2 separate regions of the Homo sapiens genome follow, and region 2 is linked to region 1. Evidence: promoter capture Hi-C in 16 types of primary human blood cells and fetal thymus (Javierre and others, 2016). All regions are on one chromosome and are shown on one strand. The core of a region is centred on a gene start or on the middle of the fragment in contact, and the rest is flanking DNA. Distances in the headings are between cores, read along the strand shown.

Region 1 (3,155 bases), core at 7-2,506:
AAGTGCTGGGATTACAGGCTGCTTCCTTTAACCTAGAGCAGTTCACTAGCCTTTTTCCTAATCTTTCATGAAACTGACATTTTTGAAGACTGGGCAGTTGTCTTGCAGGTCTCTCAGTTTGGATTTGCCTGATTGTTTCGTCCTGAAGAGAGGCAAATTACACACTTTTACAAGAATATTATCTCTGTGTCCCTCTCTGTGCCTCACACCAGGGGCATATGTCAGTCCCTACCATCCCCCGTTTGATCAGTCTCTTTGATGTGAAGGTACCCTTTTCTCTTTAGTGAGTAATCTATGGGGGTGATACTTTGAAACCATATGAACATCCTCAACGGTCCACTGATCATTTCAGCCTGAATCAATTATTATCATGGTGGTTCCAAGACGATGATTTTCTATTTCTGTCATCTATTCTACCTTTATTAGTTGGTCTTCTCCTCTACAGAAGAGCTTTTTCTCCTCCACATCCTCTGCCCCTTTGAATTATCATCTCTCACTACTTGTGGGATCTTGAATCAATCACTTACTCCCTGGGGACCTGTGTATTCTCATCCTTAAGACGAGATGACCTAAGAGTGACACTCTTGAAGTCTGGTCAGTCTGAAATGAAATTCCCATAAGAGGCTGGGCGTGGGCTCAGGCCTGTGATCCCAGCACTCTGGTAGGCGCAGGCGGGCGGATCACTTATGCCGTGGAGTTCGAGACCAGCCTGGAAACATAGGGAGATTCCCGTCTTTACCAAAAAAAAAAAAAAAAAAAAATTAAATTAGCCGGGCGTGGTGGCGCGCTTCTGTGGACCCTCCTACTCAGGAGGCTTAGGCAGGAGGACGGCTTGAGCCCAGGAGGTCGAGGCTCCAGTGAGCCAAGATCGCGCCACTACACTCCGGCCTGCGGCATGCCTCAAACCTGGGGTCCGGCACCCTGCGGCCTTTTCGCGGCCGCACCCATGGCAACAGTTAACTAGCAACCTCGCGCATTCTCGCGAGAATGAGTCCCCTCAAGGGCACAGGTGCGGTCCCCAGCCTCTTGGGCCCCCAGTCAACCTCACTGTCCACACCGAGCCCTCCTGCGCACGCGCGCTGCGGAGCCGGACAGTTGGTGGTGCTGGCTTGGCCCGGCTGTTCGTCTCCGCGCCTTGCTCCGAAGCGCGCGACCGTGGCGCGACACGCCGGCGCACAGGCGCTCTCGGGGAGGGGCGGCGCGCAGGCGCGGCTGGGGGTGCGAGGCTGCGCAGGCGCGGACGGCGTTGGTTTGAAGACCTTCAGCGTTGCCCTGGCGGAGCAGAGACAGGCCCTCGGGGTGGAGGTGAGGAGAGCTGAGGCCGCGCGGGCTCCAGTCCCGGAGAGCGGTGGGCCGCGGCCGAGCAGAGCGCCAGGCGGGAGGCGGGCCTAACGGAGGCTCTGTGGGCAGGGAGCAGGCTACCGGGGCGCGGGGGGCCGGGGCCGCTCGCTCCCGCCGGGACCCGCCCGGGCCACCTCAGGCGATGGAGCCGCAGCACGGCGGGGCAAGTGGCCTCCGGGCGCGGGCAGCGACCTATCCCGCCGGCGTGTGGACCGCACTTTCCTCCCAGGGGTCAGCTAGAAAGGAGATCGGTTCTAGGGAAGTTGGATCCTCGAACCCCACACCCATCTCCCGCCCGCCCCTGCCCCCTCCTTACGGCCGAGGGAGGGTGCCCTGCGTGCAATTCAAAACGGAGAAGCGAGGAACGAAAAGGGCTCTGTACTGGCTGTCAAGTTAGTGGCTTTGTAAAGCAGTAGCAACCGGCTTAACGCCTTTCCCCGTCTGCGTCTCCTGCAGCCTCTGTGCAGTGTGCACATCTATGGGCAGGTGCATTCTGTAGAGCTGGTGGAGACGTGTGGTTGTAGCTTTACTCTCGAGGAACATGAAGTTTCTGTTGTTCTCGATTTTTGCTTGATCATACTAGCAGTGCATTTCCCATCAGAGTCATAGGCCTGAAAAAGTCAGCTTGAACTAGGCAGAATTGAGGTCAGTTAGTATACTAAACCAGCTACGTGACTTTTGCATAGTATCTCGTACTGGTTTTGAAAAATAACAAAACAAAATGCTGAAATATTGTAAATAGTCCCTAGACGTATATATAGTGCTTCTAAACATTTAAGTGTATCTTTTCTCGGCAGTATGAAAAACCAGACTGTAAAGCTTTAACATTTCTATTTCAATATATACTGCCTGCATTTCTATACTTACTTCCCAAATTACAGACTTCTGGCAAAATTTCAACAAATATCAACATCAGTTGTAATCATAAAGAGTAATATCAAATTGCAATTGGGATAATATAAAAAGCCTAGAATTGATCACTTTAGTACAAGGGATTGAATTGTAAAATAATCGTTCTGTAAGTGAATTATGAAACCTGGTAGCTTAGAGCAAAGTTTTACTATGGAATGAGTCAGTACATTTATACTACCGTTTCCTCTTTAATTTTTTTTTCTTTTTAGTTTTTTATACTAGTCTCTTTATATCATAGTGTCTGTCATATTTGACAGGTTTATGTTAAGGAACAAAACTTAAATGCATTCCCATTTAAGTGCATCATATGTATATGTTTGGTATGATGGGGTAGGCAGAAGCTTAGCAGAAGTCTGGATTAAGAGCTGGGCTATATATAAATAAATATGAGCTTAAATGTGTAGATCATTCAGGCGTAGCAATTGCAAGGGCTAGCTGGTACTCTGGATTTTTCTGACATATGGGCTAATGGCACTGCTAGAGGTGGCTCTGTAATTGGTTAGACATAGCTTTTGAGTCTGCGAGAGGAATACAGAAGAACCTGCTGCAGAAAGATTTCCCATGATACAAAGAGGGCAAAGGAATGAGATAATCAGCAGTGTTGATAGCTCTGAGAATTTGATATGAGGGTCATATTACCAGTAGCAAAGCTGGGCAGATTTTTAGTAGGCAAGATGAAAAATCAAGGCACCTGAGGTTTTTGAAGGCTTTAACTTCAGAGTTTACACTAACTTTTGGTAAGCAGGTTGCTGCAGGTAGAATCTGTCATATTTCTGGTTAATGGGTAAAATTATAGCACTTTAAGAAGAGCTTTGAGAGAAGATATATTCTAGATGAATACACTTCAATTCGTATGGTAAATTCTTATTTTAAGAACTGAATTTCAGAGGAGAAAAATGTTA
Region 2 (2,940 bases), core at 190-2,689, 90 kb before region 1:
CTCATGAGCCAGGGAAAGGCTGGGGTTACCACCGGGGCACGGCTTCTGAGGAGGGTGAGAGAAGGAGGCTGTTATCTTCCTATGGCAAGTCTGCCATGTGGACCCATTCTGTGGAAATGTACTGTGTCATTTATCTTAGTTTTTGTGTTTTTCCTGCATACACTGCACTGTGTCGTTTATTTTAGTTTTTGCATTTTTCTAGAGGCAGGGTCTTGCTCTGTTGTCCGGGCTAGAGTGCAGTGGCACGATCATGTTTCACCGCAGCCTTGAATTCCTGGGCTCAAGTGATCCTCTCACCTCAGTCTCCCACGTAGCTGGGATGAAGGCATGCGCCACCATGCCTGGCTAATTAAAATTTTTTTTTTTGTAGAGACAGGGTCTTGCTATATTGCCCAGGCTGGTCTCAAACTCTTGGCCTCAAGGGATCCTCCTCCCTCGGCCTCCGAAAGTGCTGGGATTACAGGTGTGAGCCACCATGCCTGGCCTCACTGTGTAGTTGTGAATAGCTTAATAGTTTGCAATGTGGTGCTTCTCACAGCTCTTCTCTGTAATGGGAACATGAAAAATTACCTGGTACAGTTTTATGCTTTGTGGTGTGGCTTTTAATTTTTATAAACATGTCTTACTGCTATTGCCAGGGATTTAGATTTTTAATAAACTTCCAGATTCAACAGTATTTTTCTTCATCTCAATGTCTCATTTTTCATCAAATTTAAACAAAGTTAGATTCTCTGGGCTTGAAACAATTTTGATTCATTTCACTTTAGCTCTGAAGTACTGTTTTGTAAAATGTAGCACAGTGATACTGAACCAAGCTTTTTGAAAGCTTATTCTCTGCAGGGTACATTTAAGAGGACTTGCCTATCAGAATTTTTACATTTCAGTCCCAGAAACTATGTGTAACAATACCTGTTGGATTCTTTAAATCTGGACTTTATTAAGTTGACAGAGGTATTGAAGAATAGATGACCACCCCGAAATGAGGAATAAAGTTTGTTTTGTACAGTTGTTTAAGCATAAAAATAGACAGATATTAATAGTAGTCAGAGTATTCAGTTACCAACCTCTTGTCCCTCCTCACTGAAGATCTGGTGACAACTCTAATCCACGTGGCGTAGAGAGCGGTGCCTTTGGTCTAATCCGAATGCTCCTCCTCTTCACTGGGGGGTTCTGGGGACATCTCACCTGGTTGTGCCCTGGGTTTTGCCCTGAGATGTTAGCCTCCAGCTCTGGGGGCCTTGTCTCAGTCTGGGCATGTGTACTTGCTCAAATTACAGTATCTCAACTTCCATATATTCTGCTTTGGAAAAAACTAACCTACACTTTTATGTATTACATCCTGATACTCTCCAGCAGTCTGTCATATACCAAAACAGGTCTTTTGTGAACCTATCAGTTAACAGACACTTTGAGTTATTGCATGGCCTTGCTCTCTGCCAGCCAGTAGTTCATATTCAACAGCAGTGCCATCCCTGTCTGCAAGGCTGTGTTAGTGCAGCTATTTTTTATACTTCATTTAATTTATTATGCTTTTTCATTTGCTTTGATTTTTAATAAAAGTAAAACAAAAATAAAAGTGCTGATGAGAAGCATTGGTCTTGAAACATTAACACAATTGAGAACAAGATGAAATATAATTTTTTAGGCACATGGAAAGCAGCGAGTCTTTCACCTCATCTGGACATTAATTGGACCTAAGCTGATCTACTCTGTCACTTAGGAAGGAAATGAAAAGTAAGGAACAGTATGATATGTTGGAACCACATGGTCGAAGGCTGGACTTAAAAGAGCAGATGCAAGGAGAGATCTGGCACCACAGATAGAGCATCCCTAATCCCAAAGTCCAAAATCTAAAGGGCTGTAAAATCTGAAGGTTTTTGTACACTGACATGATGCCAGAAGTGGAAAATTCCACACTTAAGTACTTAACACATTGTTCCATGCACAAAATTATTAAGACTATTGTATAAAATTACCATCAGACTATAAAATCATTTATAAAAATTCAGTTGTTTCATATAAGGTATATATGAAACAAATGAATTTTGTGTTTAAGCTTGGGTTCATTAGGAATATGCCAGTATTCCAAAATCCAAAAAAAAAAAAACTGATCCCAAGCATTTTGGATAAGAGATACTCATCATGTATAGCTTAATGTTCTGAGCTGGAACTCCTTTAATAAGGTGGAAGTCAGTTGTTCAGCTCTCAGTTTGACTCTTAAATATGTTTTCAGCAAATGTTCAGCTTAGAGTCTTTGCAGAGAATGTTTGCTTACTCAGTTTCTGTGGAAGGCTTTTCCGTTACCCTGCACAGAGGGCCGTACCCATGACAGCAGATAGGATCGCTGCCTGGGCCTCAGGGGTCTTCCCCTCCCCGGCTTGCCGAGAGGGAGAGAGAGAGAGAGAGAGAGAGAGAGAGAATGAGAGAGAGAGAGAGAGAGAGAGAGAATGAGAGAGAGAGAGAGAGGAGAGAGAATGAGAGAGAGAATGAGAGAGAAACAGAGAGAATGAGAATGGTGGTGGCGGCGACGGCATACAGAGGGTTCATTGTTAAACCTCTGAATGTTACTGCTTTTGACTTTTTAAGTTTTAAACAAGAAACAGGTCATACCATTAACTATCCCTCTGAGTCAGAAAATATAGACCCAAGAGTTGCCTGTTCTAATGTGGCACTACCATAATTTGTTCTAACATTTCCTAATGACTGTCTGTTTCTAATTATTTCATTCAAGATATGCAGTAAGTATCCTTGGGCTACCAGTGAAGTGATACCATTTGTATCTCTTCTTCTGTGCTTTCTCACCACTTGACATTCTTTGCCCATTTTTCTTTTTCTTTTTCTTTTTTTTTTTAGGTAGAGTCTTACTCTGTCACCCAGGTTGGAGTGCAGTGGCCATGATCTCGGCTCACTGCAACCTCTGCCTCCTGGGTTCAAGCAATT

The links. The method cuts DNA at HindIII sites, captures the fragments that hold promoters and counts their contacts. A CHiCAGO score of 5 or more calls a contact.
Region 2: a contact is called between a fragment that was not itself captured here and the fragment with the promoter of VDAC3 in region 1, in 1 of 17 cell types (megakaryocytes). The highest score is 5.3, in megakaryocytes.

Annotation. Positions count from the first base shown.
Region 1 is chr8:42,390,624-42,393,778 of GRCh38, forward strand. VDAC3 (voltage dependent anion channel 3) reads left to right here and starts at 1,257. Exons shown (of 10, transcript NM_005662.7): 1 at 1,257-1,305. It also overlaps a transcript of DKK4 not described here. RefSeq lists enhancers at 761-1,261, 1,262-1,762 and a silencer at 1,004-1,533. The HindIII fragment of the contact is 9,991 bases long and covers 1-2,158 here.
Region 2 is chr8:42,300,672-42,303,611 of GRCh38, forward strand. The region is part of intron 5 of IKBKB (inhibitor of nuclear factor kappa B kinase subunit beta); the gene reads left to right. It overlaps LOC105379395 (a long non-coding RNA gene), which reads left to right. Exons shown (of 2, transcript XR_949714.3): 2 at 1-676. Among named protein-coding and RNA genes, the nearest start is that of IKBKB, 31 kb to the left of the region's middle. The HindIII fragment of the contact is 1,230 bases long and covers 825-2,054 here.